2 separate regions of the Homo sapiens genome follow, and region 2 is linked to region 1. The links are contacts of gene promoters, found by promoter capture Hi-C in blood cells and fetal thymus (Javierre and others, 2016). All regions are on one chromosome and are shown on one strand. Each heading gives the region's core, a stretch centred on a gene start or on the middle of the fragment in contact. The rest is flanking DNA. Distances are from core to core; before and after follow the strand shown. Region 1 holds the start of OR9A2 (olfactory receptor family 9 subfamily A member 2). Region 2 overlaps EPHA1-AS1 (EPHA1 antisense RNA 1).

What was found. Contacts are between HindIII fragments. The CHiCAGO score rates a contact against its expected background, and 5 or more counts as called.
Region 2: a contact is called between a fragment that was not itself captured here and the fragment with the promoter of OR9A2 in region 1, in 1 of 17 cell types (neutrophils). The highest score is 5.1, in neutrophils.

The regions. Positions count from the first base shown.
Region 1 is chr7:143,024,284-143,031,484 of GRCh38, reverse strand. OR9A2 (olfactory receptor family 9 subfamily A member 2) reads left to right here and starts at 4,353. Exons shown (of 1, transcript NM_001001658.1): 1 at 4,353-5,285. The coding sequence starts at 4,353. The coding sequence ends at 5,285. It overlaps LOC105375544 (a long non-coding RNA gene), which reads left to right. Exons shown (of 2, transcript XR_001745395.1): 2 at 1-2,225. The HindIII fragment of the contact is 3,416 bases long and covers 2,556-5,971 here.
Region 2 is chr7:143,486,334-143,493,534 of GRCh38, reverse strand. The region is part of intron 2 of EPHA1-AS1 (EPHA1 antisense RNA 1); the gene reads right to left. It overlaps LOC105375547 (a long non-coding RNA gene), which reads right to left and starts at 558. Exons shown (of 2, transcript XR_928075.3): 1 at 1-558. It also overlaps the pseudogene OR2R1P. RefSeq lists a silencer at 1,265-1,559. The HindIII fragment of the contact is 3,467 bases long and covers 2,089-5,555 here.

The DNA of each region.
Region 1 (7,201 bases), core at 3,104-5,603:
AAATACACAATAGATAGTCATTAAACTTGTCACCCTACTATGCCACAGAACACTGGAACTTATTTCTTCTATTTAACTGAAATTTTGTAACCACTAACCAAACTCTTCCTGTCTTCCCCTCCCCTATATCCTTTCTAGCTTCTGTTAACCATTATTTTATTCTGTACTTCTATGAGATCAACTGTTTTAGTTTCCACATATGAGTGAGAACATGTGGTATTTGTCTTTATGTGCCTGGCTTATTTCACTTAATGGAATGCCCTCCAGTTTTCTCCATTTTGCCACAAATGACAAGATTTCATTCCTTTTAATGGCTGAATTCTATTCCATTGTATATATACACCACATTTTCTGTGTTCACTCATCCATTGATGGATACTCAAGTTGATTCTATATCCATATTTGTTTTTGAGTTGGTTTTGGTCATTTTTATCTTTCAAAAATTTTCCATTTCATCAGGCTTGTTAATTGATTTCCCTTTTAAGGTGTCTTGTTTTTATTCTCTTCAACTTAAAATTAAAATTTTAATTATGCCTTTGGCTTATAACAGGTCAGGAAAACAAGACCCCTTCTATTACACAGTCTTAGTAATTGTGTGAATCAATACAAAATGTTTGGAGTGTAATTTGGTGCCAATAAAAAGTAATAGCTTCAATACATCTGCATTTGACCCAGACATTCCAACTCTAGGGAATCTTTTTTTTCTTTTTCAGAAATATAATTGTTTATGTACTTACATGTATACGTACTTACTTTACTTACAAGTACATGTTTATGTACTTACAAATATCTAAGAATATTTATAGCATCATTTTTTCATAATTAAAAATGGAAACAACAATGAAAATTAATTAATAAATGTCTATCTAATAAAGAATAGGACATCCACATAATGGAATCCTATGTTAAAAAAAAAAGAGGTAGAGTAATATGTGCTGACATGGAAAGATATATTTTATATGTTGTTAAATGAGAAAGAAAAGGTTGCAAACAGATTTTCACAGCCTTTACGAAAAAGAATATGGAGATACATGCTTGGAAAATTTCTCTAAAATTATATGGCAAGTATTTGGGCTTGGGCAATTTAAGGAATTGGAAGAAAGATTAATCCCAATTTATACCCTTAGGCACCAATTGAAATTCTCAGATTTAACAGGTGTACTTAAAATACTTAAAATGAAAACAAAAATGCAGACAAATGTTTTGTAATTCCTACTTTTTCTGTCTTACTCCAGCATTAGACAGATTTCCAACTTACATTTTGTCAGTTCCTCCAGGTTGCAAACAGAACTGTGTACATAAGCTGTCCTTATGCTCTCTCTACTTTGCAGTGGTCCAGCTGGTAATCAGGGACATGCCATAGGAAAAAAAAAAGTCTGGAAGAATCTTGCTGGAATGCATACAGATGCACATATATCAAGAGGAGTGAAAACCTGAGACAATAGAACAGAATAGAGTTCGATTTAGGGGAGGGACCTCTTACAGTATTCTGTAGGGTCCACAGGACTAAACGCAGGAGCCTTTTTAAAATGAATGAAGGAGTCATCAGGCTTTTTAGAAGATATTTGGTGAAGTTAAGGCTTTGACCAAGACCAATATGCAGACTTTTTTGGGATATTGGTGCATGTTTTAGAGGCCAATTGTGGTGTCTCCTACTGGGGGAAAAGGGTTGATTTAGGCTCCGAATAACTAGAGAAACTTGAGAAAAGCCTAAGATAAACGACAGAGGTAGTTGACTGTTTAGAATCTGAGACATCTGGAAACCTAGACCTGAGGTTTTCAGGAAGGCAGCCCCAGTATTAAGAAGTCCCTGATTGGTAAGATTTCAGGTTTTCCCGTCAAACAAAAACTTTCAAAAGTTCTAAAACTTAATTGGTCAAAAAATGGGAATAACTTAAAGTTTGTTCTGCTCCCACTAGACTGATTGCCTGGGGACTCCCTGAACGTGGGCTAATTAAGAAGTAGTAACTCGGTGATTAAGTACCCTTGGGAAGAAGGGAAGAGGGAGGAGAGGGGAGAGAGAGAGGACCCTCAACTTTGCCCAACACTCATTTCTGGGCTTTTTCCTAAGCTCCTCTGGGAGGACATTTCCCTTCTTCGCCATGAGTGGGGATTGCAGCAACTTGTTCTGGCCCCTGTGCATGGCTCAGCACTAGCAGGACAGGAGGTAGCCTCAGCGGAGCCCTAGAGAACATCAGAAGAGGCGGCGAAGCCCCTCTGTAAAGGTGAGTGTCTTTCCAAGGGGTCTCCTCTATGAAGAAGAGGGTAAAAGCATTTTAGGATGGGACATCCTGGGCCTGCCTATCTTCTAGAACAAAGTCACCCAGATATTGAAGTGTGGGCTAGGGGAGCAGTAGAGTGTATAGGCTCATCTCCAGACCCTTCCTGCATAGCAGAGAGCACTTCCGGCTCCTCTTGGACCCAATGCTAACACAGTCACGGCTCCCTGACAGTCGGTGTCCTTCTCGCTCATGTTTCTTCATCTCGTGCTGGTTATGCAGAGGTTGTGGAAAACCAGAACACTGAGCTTTCCCATCAATTCTGTCCCTGAAGCTTTTTAAACCATTAGTAAAACAGTGACGTAGACAGGGAAGGGGTTACCTAAGCAAGGGAAGGGCAGGAGGGAAAATGGTAATGTGAGGCAGGAAGGAAAACCAACCAGAATAGGATTGAGGGAATGTGGCCCAGGCCCTGGCCAGAACAAGTATTATTTAATCATATATTATCCATCCATCCATCCATACCTCATCTAGCAAAATTTGTCAGCACTACTTATTTTATGTATATGATACATATATCTTATGTATTTAAATATCTTATAAATAAAAAATATATGTATATTTTATATAATATAAGATATATTTCATATATCTTATTTCATATATCTTATATAAATAAGATAAATAATATAAGATAATAATATAATATAAGGTGTGGTAGTTAGCTGTGTGAGTGATGAAATCTGACAGACCTAGGTTCAAATCTTGACTCACACAGCTATTAGTTCGGTTACCTTGTGATAAATTAATACATAATTTAATATATAAGATATATCTATGATATATTCATTTCACATAATGTATCTGTCTATATCTATATAAAAGATATATGATATATATATATAAAATATATAACTACTTAATTTATGTATGTACATTTTATGTGCCAGCCTCAGAATACAACAGTGAAGACATGTCCTAGCCCTCATGGAGTTTATATTCTAATGCCGTTGATAAATAATAAATACACTTAAATTTCCTCTCCTTCTTTCTTGCTTATTTTTTTCCCTGTGACATGATAAGCAAACTAAACTATTGCATATTTTACTTAGGTGTCTTGTGTGTGGTCTAGCCCCCACCTCTTCCTTGAATATAAGCTCCACAGGGCATGGAATTTTCTTTGTTCTGTTCATGACTACATTTGTTTATTGTTAAATAAAGGAATGAAGTAAATAATTAGACATAATACAAGGTAATAACAACTGTTATTAAAAAAATGGAAGTCCAATAATAAGTGTGTCTTTTCTGTTTTGGGCAGAGTGATTGGAAAGAGTCTTTGGAAAGGGTGACATTTGAATAATGGAATGAAGCGACAGGCAGAGAGCCAGGCATCCTTAACAGCTGGCGGTCCCAGATCTATTCCTTTTCTGTGCCAGGTGCCATCTTTCCTTCCTCCCACAACTTTGGAAGGAAAATGGAATTAGAGAAGAATGGATCTGTTCTGGGAAATTATCCCAAGCTCTAGAGTTCTCATTTAGAGATCTTGCTGTTCTGTAAAATGGAGATTTTAAAATCTGGAACAGCAGAGATGTTAGTCTTACATCCTCTGCCTCCTTTCTGCTGGCCCCAAAGGTGGGTCTATGCATTACCATTACAGATGAGAGCTGGGGTTTAAAATTCTGTCCTTTGAACATCATATAAAATGCCTTTGTGTCATCTTGCACAGTTAACCTAAGAGAAAGTAACTCCAGGACCGGAGGGACCTGATTGACTCACCTTTAAAACTGGCCTATTTAAAAGGTCTTAGCCTCTGCCCCCGAGAGAAGGTATATTTAATGGGGAAAAAGGCAAGGAAGGTATTTCACCACCAGTAGAAGAAGATGTCTTCACCCATTCTAGGGGGCTGGTTACACAGGGAAGTGAGAGCCTCACTTGTAGACTTGGGATGACAACATGTACCTCAAGCTATGTATGTGCCGACCACAGTAGCAGGGACATGTCACCTGATTCTCAGGTTGGAAATAGTTTCTTAACCTAATTTTTCTTCCTTCTCTCTTGAGAGCAGGACCATGTGGAGCAATGCCACCTCTCTTTTAATCTCTGGGCTTCAAAACAAGCAGAATCAAGGACTAAATGATGGACAACCACTCTAGTGCCACTGAATTCCACCTTCTAGGCTTCCCTGGGTCCCAAGGACTACACCACATTCTTTTTGCTATATTCTTTTTCTTCTATTTAGTGACATTAATGGGAAACACGGTCATCATTGTGATTGTCTGTGTGGATAAACGTCTGCAGTCCCCCATGTATTTCTTCCTCAGCCACCTCTCTACCCTGGAGATCCTGGTCACAACCATAATTGTCCCCATGATGCTTTGGGGATTGCTCTTCCTGGGATGCAGACAGTATCTTTCTCTACATGTATCGCTCAACTTTTCCTGTGGGACCATGGAGTTTGCATTACTTGGAGTGATGGCTGTGGACCGTTATGTGGCTGTGTGTAACCCTTTGAGGTACAACATCATTATGAACAGCAGTACCTGTATTTGGGTGGTAATAGTGTCATGGGTGTTTGGATTTCTTTCTGAAATCTGGCCCATCTATGCCACATTTCAGTTTACCTTCCGCAAATCAAATTCATTAGACCATTTTTACTGTGACCGAGGGCAATTGCTCAAACTGTCCTGCGATAACACTCTTCTCACAGAGTTTATCCTTTTCTTAATGGCTGTTTTTATTCTCATTGGTTCTTTGATCCCTACGATTGTCTCCTACACCTACATTATCTCCACCATCCTCAAGATCCCGTCAGCCTCTGGCCGGAGGAAAGCCTTCTCCACTTTTGCCTCCCACTTCACCTGTGTTGTGATTGGCTATGGCAGCTGCTTGTTTCTCTACGTGAAACCCAAGCAAACACAGGGAGTTGAGTACAATAAGATAGTTTCCCTGTTGGTTTCTGTGTTAACCCCCTTCCTGAATCCTTTCATCTTTACTCTTCGGAATGACAAAGTCAAAGAGGCCCTCCGAGATGGGATGAAACGCTGCTGTCAACTCCTGAAAGATTAGCTGTTCTGTAAGTCAGTTTTAGGTGGTCCAAGCCTCAGGGTTAATTATTAAGTCACCTAGAAAATTCTAACTCCTCTTTTCTCTTATCCTCTCATTACAAAAGTCAAAGAGTGTGTACAATTCGCCATCACACCATGGAAGTAGATTAGGCTGGTAATAATGAAATCCATTGTCTGTCCAGGAGACTCTCATAGCCTTAGTTCCTGCCTGTTTCCACTGTTGAACATATTCTTGTGATTTGGGGGGGACTAGAGAAAGGAAATGCAGACATTTTTGTAAGAATTCTATTAGCCCAACTCATTTCCTCATAGTCCATCTCTGAAAATGTATTTTCTGGGGAAGGGAGGAAGTGTGGAGGGAGGTGTACTGAGAAAGGTGTCCTAATCAGAGTAGAAAGGTAGAGATGCTCACTTTGGTCCTTCATCACCTGTTGCTAAGTTCTTCCCTATATTTTTGTGCAATTTTTTGGCAAGATGGCCATATGCATTTTAGATATCCTAAAGCTCTTTCTCTCTGCCCCATTGATACTGGAAAGGAAGTGTAACACTGTTTACGTTTTGTCACAGAACCAGTCTAGAATGGCGATATGAGGATTGGAATGCTTCTCATTCAGGAGATATTTGTGGTGTAAAGAAGATAAAAATATTTGAGGATAAAAATGGAGGAAAATTTATTTTTGTTAAGCTTCAGCATATTCCTTTCACTGCCCTTCTTTGTGGTGAGTATAGGGACAGGGGCAAATAAGAACTAAATGACTAATTCTAGAGAGCATCCTGTATTTTATGGCTGTTAAACACAACTATGTCTGTTCAGACTGTATCCAGATCTAGACTTCAAACTTTATAATGTCTTTTGATTCTCCGTCTCTCAAATCCAACAGTCTCAGTACCATCATGTGTATCTTCTCTGTGGGCAGAATTTTTTAAAAATAAGAGGCCATTCTTTTGACTCCCGGCTTTCTAGAAATTATAGGGATTGGCTGTTTGGTAGTGTAACTGTTGGAATTTCACATAATATTGGAAGAAGTCCTTATAAGGAAGAAGTTTACCTAAACAACAACAATCAGCAGATTCTACCAGCCCTAAAGTAAGTGAGAAAATTGAGCTGTTCAGCAGTGGGATGATGAGGCTACTGAGAATTTTGAAGAGTACTGTGTGAGGATGCCAGGTTGTCTTGTCCTGTGAGGAGTGATAACCGTCATGTATGTTTGGGTAGTTTGCATTGCATTAAAGTACCAGACAAGGTGGGGAATGAGCTTTAAATTCAGCCAGCCCATGCTCTGCAAGCCAACCAATGGACTCTGGTGGCACTGCATTGGCTGGAGAAAGGGGAGACTTTTGCTTAAACAAAGGTGCCCATGGTTTCCAAGCCCAGTAAATGAGGATCTGTTCTGACCAGAAAGAATACCTTTTTTCTAATTCATTAATCCAGAGAAGTATCCTTTAAGAGATGAGACAATAGAAGCTCAGAGAATTTAAATAACTTGCCAAAGTTTACTTAGCCATCCACTGTATCACATCCATCAGATTGGAAAAACATAAAACTCTGAGAATACTAAGTATTGATCTGAATGCTGGCGAATAGGGTTTTTAAAAAACCAACTTCTGGTAGAAATATAAGATATAAGATCCAAATAATTAGATAGTAGATGTCTATAATTAGGTTCTAGTATAGTCATAATAAGATAGTGGTAGTCCATTTTGCATTGCTATAACAGAATATAAATAATACCAGCCTGGATTATTTGCAAAGAAAATAAACATACTTGGCTTATGATTCTGGACACTGAAAATTTATTTGGCTTATGATTCAAGAGCATAACACCGGCATCTGACAAGGGCCTTGGTGCTGTGTCATCCTATGGCAGAAGGTGGAAGGGCAAGAGAGGGCCAGAGTGAGAGGGCAAGAGAGGGCCA
Region 2 (7,201 bases), core at 2,573-5,072, 460 kb before region 1:
TACTGACAAAGTAAAGCCTGCATCACGAAGAAGAGGATGAACAACTGTATCAAGGACTTTCTAAGAGATGTACATCTCCACATTCAAAATGTCCTGTGCATGAAGTGAGCACTCAGCCTTGGTGAGTCACCCACAAGGAAGGCTAAGAGGAGGTGGTAGGAGGATAAAGCCCAAATTCCTGGGAGCACCCGGGACTGTTTTGTGATCCTCCACTGTTTTTCTCACTGGTTGTAGTTGGAGGCTCTTTGAATTCCTCCCGTGACCTAGATGATATAAATCAGTGTTTTCAAGCCACTTGATAGAGTCCTAGTTCTTGTCAGTCACCAAATCAACAGCATAAACTGAAGTGCTCAGTATATGTAGATATACATTTTAAAAACTAAAGAATGGAAGTCAAAAGGGAGATGACTCTTTTCTTGGCCTTGAGGCATTTCTATTCTGTTGGAGATAAGAAGGAATGGAGAAGGGCTTGGATTGGTATAAGAACCAAAGATAGACATAGACCTTCATCTTTTCTTGATAAAGAAGATGGTGAGAAGTGTCTGTTCATATCCTTCGCCCACTTTTTGATGGGGTTGTTTGTTTTTTTCTTGTAAATTTGTTTGAGTTCATTATAGATTCTGGATATTAGCCCTTTGTCAGATGAGTAGATTGCAAAAACTTTCTCCCATTCTGTACGTTGCCTGTTCACTCTGATGGTAGTTTCTTTTGCAGTGCTTAGGAAGGAGGCTTACGTATCAGAAGGCTACCAGCCTTTCAGCCTTGGCCCAAGTAGTTTTGCCATTTCTACTGGTGTAGTCCTCTTCCCCGTTTCCTTAGTCTCTGGTTTTGAGTCAATTAGTCCCGTTCATTGACACCTCCCCAATCAGCTATGTGTGAGATCTGAATCCTTTGAACCCAAAACCCACTAATTCATATCTCATTGCCTACAGTCCCACTAGCTATGCATGCTTAGAGCAATCAAACACCAAAGGATCTATTTTTCCCTTCTATACTACTTTAAACCACAGATTATGTATATTCACTTATCACAAATCTTTAGAGCTGGAAGAAATCTTAATGTACCTAATCTAACTTGCTCATTCTGTAGATGAAGAAACTGTGGCTTTAAAATGTAGCAATGTACCCAATGGATACGTAGATGGTTTCCTGATACAGCTTGAAGCCCAGGCCTCCTTATATGAATCTTAGCATACCTTAAACCTCATCTACTTTTTTAAGAGGCAAGAGCACTATTTCTTGTTTTTGTTTTGTTTTGTTTTTTGTTTCTACTTTATTATTTCTACAGATCTGCTGAGCTGATTACATAGCCAGACTCTATGTCTCCTCTTACCAGATGTCTTCATCAAGCTTCCTCTGAAAACTCCCCTGATAAGGTCATGATGACTCACTCTTTCTATTCTCCCTGCAGGCTGAGTTCCTAAGCAGGAGACCAGACTGATTGATTTGTTATCCCAATACCTTCCACTGGACCAGGCGCTGAACAGTGCTCAGTACATGTTTACCAAGGTGAGAAAAGTGGAATAAAATTCTCTGTCCCAAAAAGCTAAGAACGAGGCCATCTATCAATAAAAATAGTTTTTCATCATCTAAAAACATCACCAAAATGTATTGGAATAAAATAGTACTAAGTTCACACTGTGTGCAGAGCATGTACTACCTACTCACTGAGTACAGGTGAACCCTCTACTTTGATTCTTCACTATATTTAACAGGGTCTCTGTAATTAGGTGGTTTAAGCAATATAATGCATTTCAAGGGGCTTTATGACCCACATTCTGAAAACTTTCTGACGTTTATAGCACATATTCTATTGTTTCTTGTCCCCATGGCACTGGGTAGACTTTACCTCTGTAATTTGGACTTGTTGAGCATAGTAACAGCCACTTACGTTTACTTATACTTTACAAAGCACATTCATATTCATTTGTTCATCTGATCTTACTTAAAATGTTGTGAGATAAGCATTATTATTATTCATGCATTTCAAATGAAGAAACTGAGGCTCATAGAGGTCTAGTAAGTTGCACATAGCAGACTAATGGAAGAGGCAAACTCAAACTCAGACCCCTTGACTTATTTAAAGCTTTACCCCCACACCACATGTCTTTCTCTTCAAGGATAGATGGCTGTCCTGAGCTTCCCATCTGAGGTTCCTCAGGTGCCTCCCTTCCTAGACTACAGCTTTTCAGAACTCCTTCCCACCCTTCACTCATGGGCTTGGGTAGAGCTAGATGTGCAGGGCAGCCCTGACCCTTGTTCCAGCTTAGTCTCCAGGTAGATCTGAGACCTGGGCAAATCACCGTAGCCCTATTCCTTGGTTTCCTTGTTTATAAAATGAAAGGAATGAAACACTTAGCCCCTATATTTCTTTTCATTTTAAACAGTTGTGGTTACCTTCTGGAGGGTATCTCAATCCTTGAGGCCAACTCTGAAGGTGAAGATTCTGTCTATAGTAACAAGCAGCATACTGATCATAGTAGATCAGCATTGATCTACTTCTGCTGATACAAGGGAACCATCTCCCTAGGGCAGCAGTCAAAATTCCAGCCCCTGGCTCTGACCCTAGAACCTGATCTCCAACCTTGAGAACCCAAGGCCAGTTTCTATTCTTAGCAGTTTCTACAGTGACACCTTCTGGCCACTGCAGGACCAGGGCTGAATGGAGACAAGATGCCAGCTCCATCCAGGTCCTCTCTGCTCTCTCCCTCCACCAATGTTTCCAGCCAGAAGAAACATAAATTGAATTATGCATTTCAGCTTTCTTGCATTTTATTCTGTGGTTCTGCTCTCATTTTCTTAATGCAGATGTATGGCATTTGTCCTCTGGCTGTAGTGGCTTGCACAAACATGCTCTCATTAGATTCTCAGATTTGACCAAAATCCATTTTTAAAAATTTATTATTTGATCCTCTGGCACTGCTGATTTTCTAAACACAAATCCCTAACATTGAAAGGTGGAATTTCCTAGAGGTTGGTTGAAAGCATAGTGCCTGATATACTCAATAATGTTTTAATAAATGAATCAGTTTGTTAATTAAATTTTTTAAGAGCAGGAAATACATCTGGAGATTATATTTATATTAAGAAAAAGTGATGGCACTTAATTTTATTTTTCAAGAGGACCAGTCAGCATGGTAGAAGGGAGATGAACTGGTACAACCTTGGCTGACAAGGGAGAATTCACTCTGTTTGAAAAGATTCTGTGGGTTTCTATCACCTCATACTCAGTAGTAATACATGAGTATCATTGGTTTTCGAACGCTTGCATCACAACATTACTTTGTTAATCATTTGTTTAAACATCTAAATAAATGCCTGAAACTCACTATATAAATTGCATGTTATTAAGGAGTAAGGCATAACTACTGTCATAATTTAATTACAAAGCTCCAAATTTAATTAGCCAAATACTAACCTTGTTCTTCTCCTTCATAGCACTTAGCACAATTATACTTAATTAATTATTTGTAATTATTGATGTAATCTCTGTGTCCCTAGATAAATTATAAGAATCAAGAAAGCAAGGGCCCGTGTTTCTATCTTTCTTACTTACCAGCAGGTAACCAATGCCTGGCACAGACCCTGGCACACCAGCAGGGGATTAGTAGATATTGGTTTCAAGGACTTCAGCTTTATCTGGACTTGTGGGAGAAATGAAAAGGATGTGAGAGGATTCCTGTCTGGACTTAGTGGACCCTAGAAGAAGCAGGAAGAGCAGCTCAATCCAGAGTTAAGAAATGAGCTGAGAAATCCTAGGACATGCCTACAGTTCTCAAGTGTCTGATTACAATACTTTACCCACTGCTTCCCCACAGTGAAGAATCCTTCCTTTCTTTCATATCTTCCACATTCCTTCCCTCCTTTTCCATTTTCCTATTGTCTTTCCTTAGTTTTTCTTTGCTTCTTTCATCCTTTCTTCTCTATCATTCCTTCTACATTGATAGATTACCTCCTACACAACTGTAACTGTGATCGGTCCTCGACGTGAAAGGATGGCCAAAACAGGGACTTTGTCCTTCAGAACCTCTCAGAATTTGGTTTAGTGTCAGAAACCAAATGTCCTTTTCTCCAAGACCTTTGCATTCCCTCCTAACCACCTAGATTGAAGAAGTGAGGTTCAATGTCCCAACTGGGAAGGGACAACATAACCTGGGTGAGTGAGTTCATCCTAATGGGTCTCTCCAGTGACAGGCAGACCCAGGCTGGACTCTTTATCTTATTTGGGGCTGCCTACCTGCTGACCCTGCTGGGCAATGGGCTCATCCTGCTCCTGATCTGGCTGGACGTGAGACTCCACCTGCCCATGTATTTCTTCCTCTGCAACCTCTCACTTGTGGACATCTGCTACACCTCCAGCAGGGTCCCTCAGATGCTGGTGCACTGCACCAGCAAAGAAAGACCATCTCCTTTGCCCGATGTGGGACCCAGCTCTTTTTCTCCCTGGCCCTCGGAGGGACCGAGTTTTTGTTGCTGGCCGCAATGGCCTATGACCGCTACGTGGCTGTTTGCGACCCCCTGTGTTACATAGCAGTGATGAGCCCAAGGCTCTGCATGGCACTGGCAGCTGTCTCTTGGCTAGTGGGCCTGGCTAATTCTGCTATGGAGACGGCACTGACCATGCACCTGCCCACCTGTGGGCACAACGTGCTGAACCATGTGGCCTGTGAGACACTGGCACTGGTCAGGTCGGCCTGCGTGGACATCACCTTCAATCAGGTGGTCATAGTGGCCTCCAGTGTGGTGGTGCTGCTGGTGCCCTGCTGCCTGGTCTCGCTGTCCTACACCCTCATTGTAGTTGCCGTCCTGCAGATCCACTCCACCCAGGGGCACCGCAAGGCCTTTGGGACCTGTGCCTCCCACCTCACTGTGGTCTCCATATCCTATGGGATGGCCCTCTTTACCTACATGCAGCCTCGCTCCATGGCCTCAGCTGAGCAGGAAAAGGTGATGGTACTCTCTTATGCTGTGGTGACCCCCATGTTGAATCCTTTCATCTACAGTCTGCGGAACAAGGATGTGAAGGCAGCTCTGAGTCGAGCTCTGATGAGGAGCTCTGAATTAAAACATTAGAGAGTGGTTTGAGTAACAAGAAGGCCTCACTCTGAAAACAGTGGGCATTGGACTGTGCTCTCCAGTATAACGTGTGTACGCATGTGTGTGTATGTGTGTGCATCTGTGTGTGTGTGCATGTGTATGTGTGTGTGTAAGGGAACAGGTGGGAGGACCACAATTTGTACTACTCTCTTTTGAGGTAATAGAAAAATGGATTTTATCCGGACTTTATCTTTGGCCCATGCCTTATTCCCAATGTGAATTACAACAACTTAAAAATACATGCACCCTACAGAAAGTGAAATGAAATATATTCATTTTCTTAAATGAAAGAAAGGGGGAGGGAGGAGAAAAGATATACCAGTGTATATGAATTAGGAAGAAAGATTAAATTAGAAGTCAGGGCAGTGCACAAAATGTATTCCAAGAAAGTCTATTTCTTGGTAAAAATATTTAAATATATGTTTCTGTAGTAAGTGAGAAAAGGAGGGAAAAAAGCTTTAAGTTACAAAATTCGCTGTGCCCATAGGATCAAACAGGCCTTAGGTAAGAGGTGCAAAGGCCACCCTAGTAACTCACACATGGTCCAGCCCAGCTCACTAGGGTGGGGGATTCACCCATGGGTTTGGAGCCAAAGTCACAGTAATGATCTCTCAGCTCTGATGAGTGTGACTGGGCTGTGTGCCAGTCACATGAGCGTCCCTCTGCTTGTTTCCCTTTCAAATTTGCAGTGGTGGCAAATTGCTGGCCAGAAAGTCAGATATGCGGGACCTCAAACAAACATCTTGTATGCAATCAGGTCTAAGAATATCCTCTTGTGAACATTGAGGGCTGTGCTCAGAGCTCATCCTGACTGGGAGACCATGCTATGCACGATTAGAGTGAGCCATGGGATTCAGCAAAGAAAGAATCCGGCTTCCTCATTGGGGATAGTTTTGTTCCACTCTTTTAATACACAAATTTTTGAGCTCTAAAATCCTAGATCATAAAGCAAAGCCATGATGATTTTATTCTGAAAAATGTTTAAAATAATCTTTTAAAAATCAGACTAAAACATCTCCTTAACTAAATATTATGAATCTCTGGTTTGTCTTGACCACAAAAGAAAACAAACAAACCAAAACAAGCAAAGAAACAACAACAACGAAAAAACATAAACTGAAAACAGTTCAAACTTTTACTCAATCTGTTGCAACAAAGCTAAAGGGCTGAAAAACAGGAAATGAAGAGCACCCTTTAAAACTGCTATTAAAACTTTTTAATTGAGGTAAGGCTCACATATCACATGATTCACAGTTTTTGCCATTTTAAAGCAGATAATTCATTGACATCTAGTCAATGAATCCACAGTGTTGTGCAACCTCATCTCTATCTGCCCCAAAACACGTTCAACACCCCAAAAGGATACCCCACACTCAGTAAGCAGTCCTGACCACCACTAACCTGGTTTCTGTCTCTATGGATTTGCCAGTTTGGGACATTTCATATAAAGGGAATCATGCAGTATGTGGCCTTTTGTGTCTAACTTCTCACTTAGCATAATGTTTTTAAGGTCTTTCCATATTGTAGTATGTAGTAGTGCTTCGCTTCTTTTTATAGTTGAATAATATTCCATTGTGTGGATATAACACATTTGTTTATTCGATCATCAGATAGCGGACATTTGAATTGTTTCTACCTTTTTGCTATTGTGAATAGTGCTACTATGAACATTCATGTACAAATTTTTGTTTGAATACCTGTTTTCAATTCTTTTGAATATTTACCCAGGAGTGGAAGCACTGGGTCATATGATAATTGTAAGTTCAACTTTTTTAAGAAACTGCCAAACTGTTCTCCACCACAGCTGAACCATTTTACATTCCCACCAGCGAAGAACCAGCAATGAACAAGGATTCCAATTTCTTCACAGCCTCACCAATACTTACTATTTCAGTTCTGTTGATTGTGGCTGGTCTTTCTCATGCTATTCTCATGGTAGTTAATAAGTCTCACAAGATCTGATGGGTTTATCAGGGGTTTCTGCTTTTACTTCTTCCTCATTTTTTGCTGCTGCCATGTAAGAAGTGCCTTTCGCCTCCTGCCATGATTCTGAGGCTTCCCCAGCCATGTGGAACTGTAGGTCCAATTAAACCTCTTTTTCTTC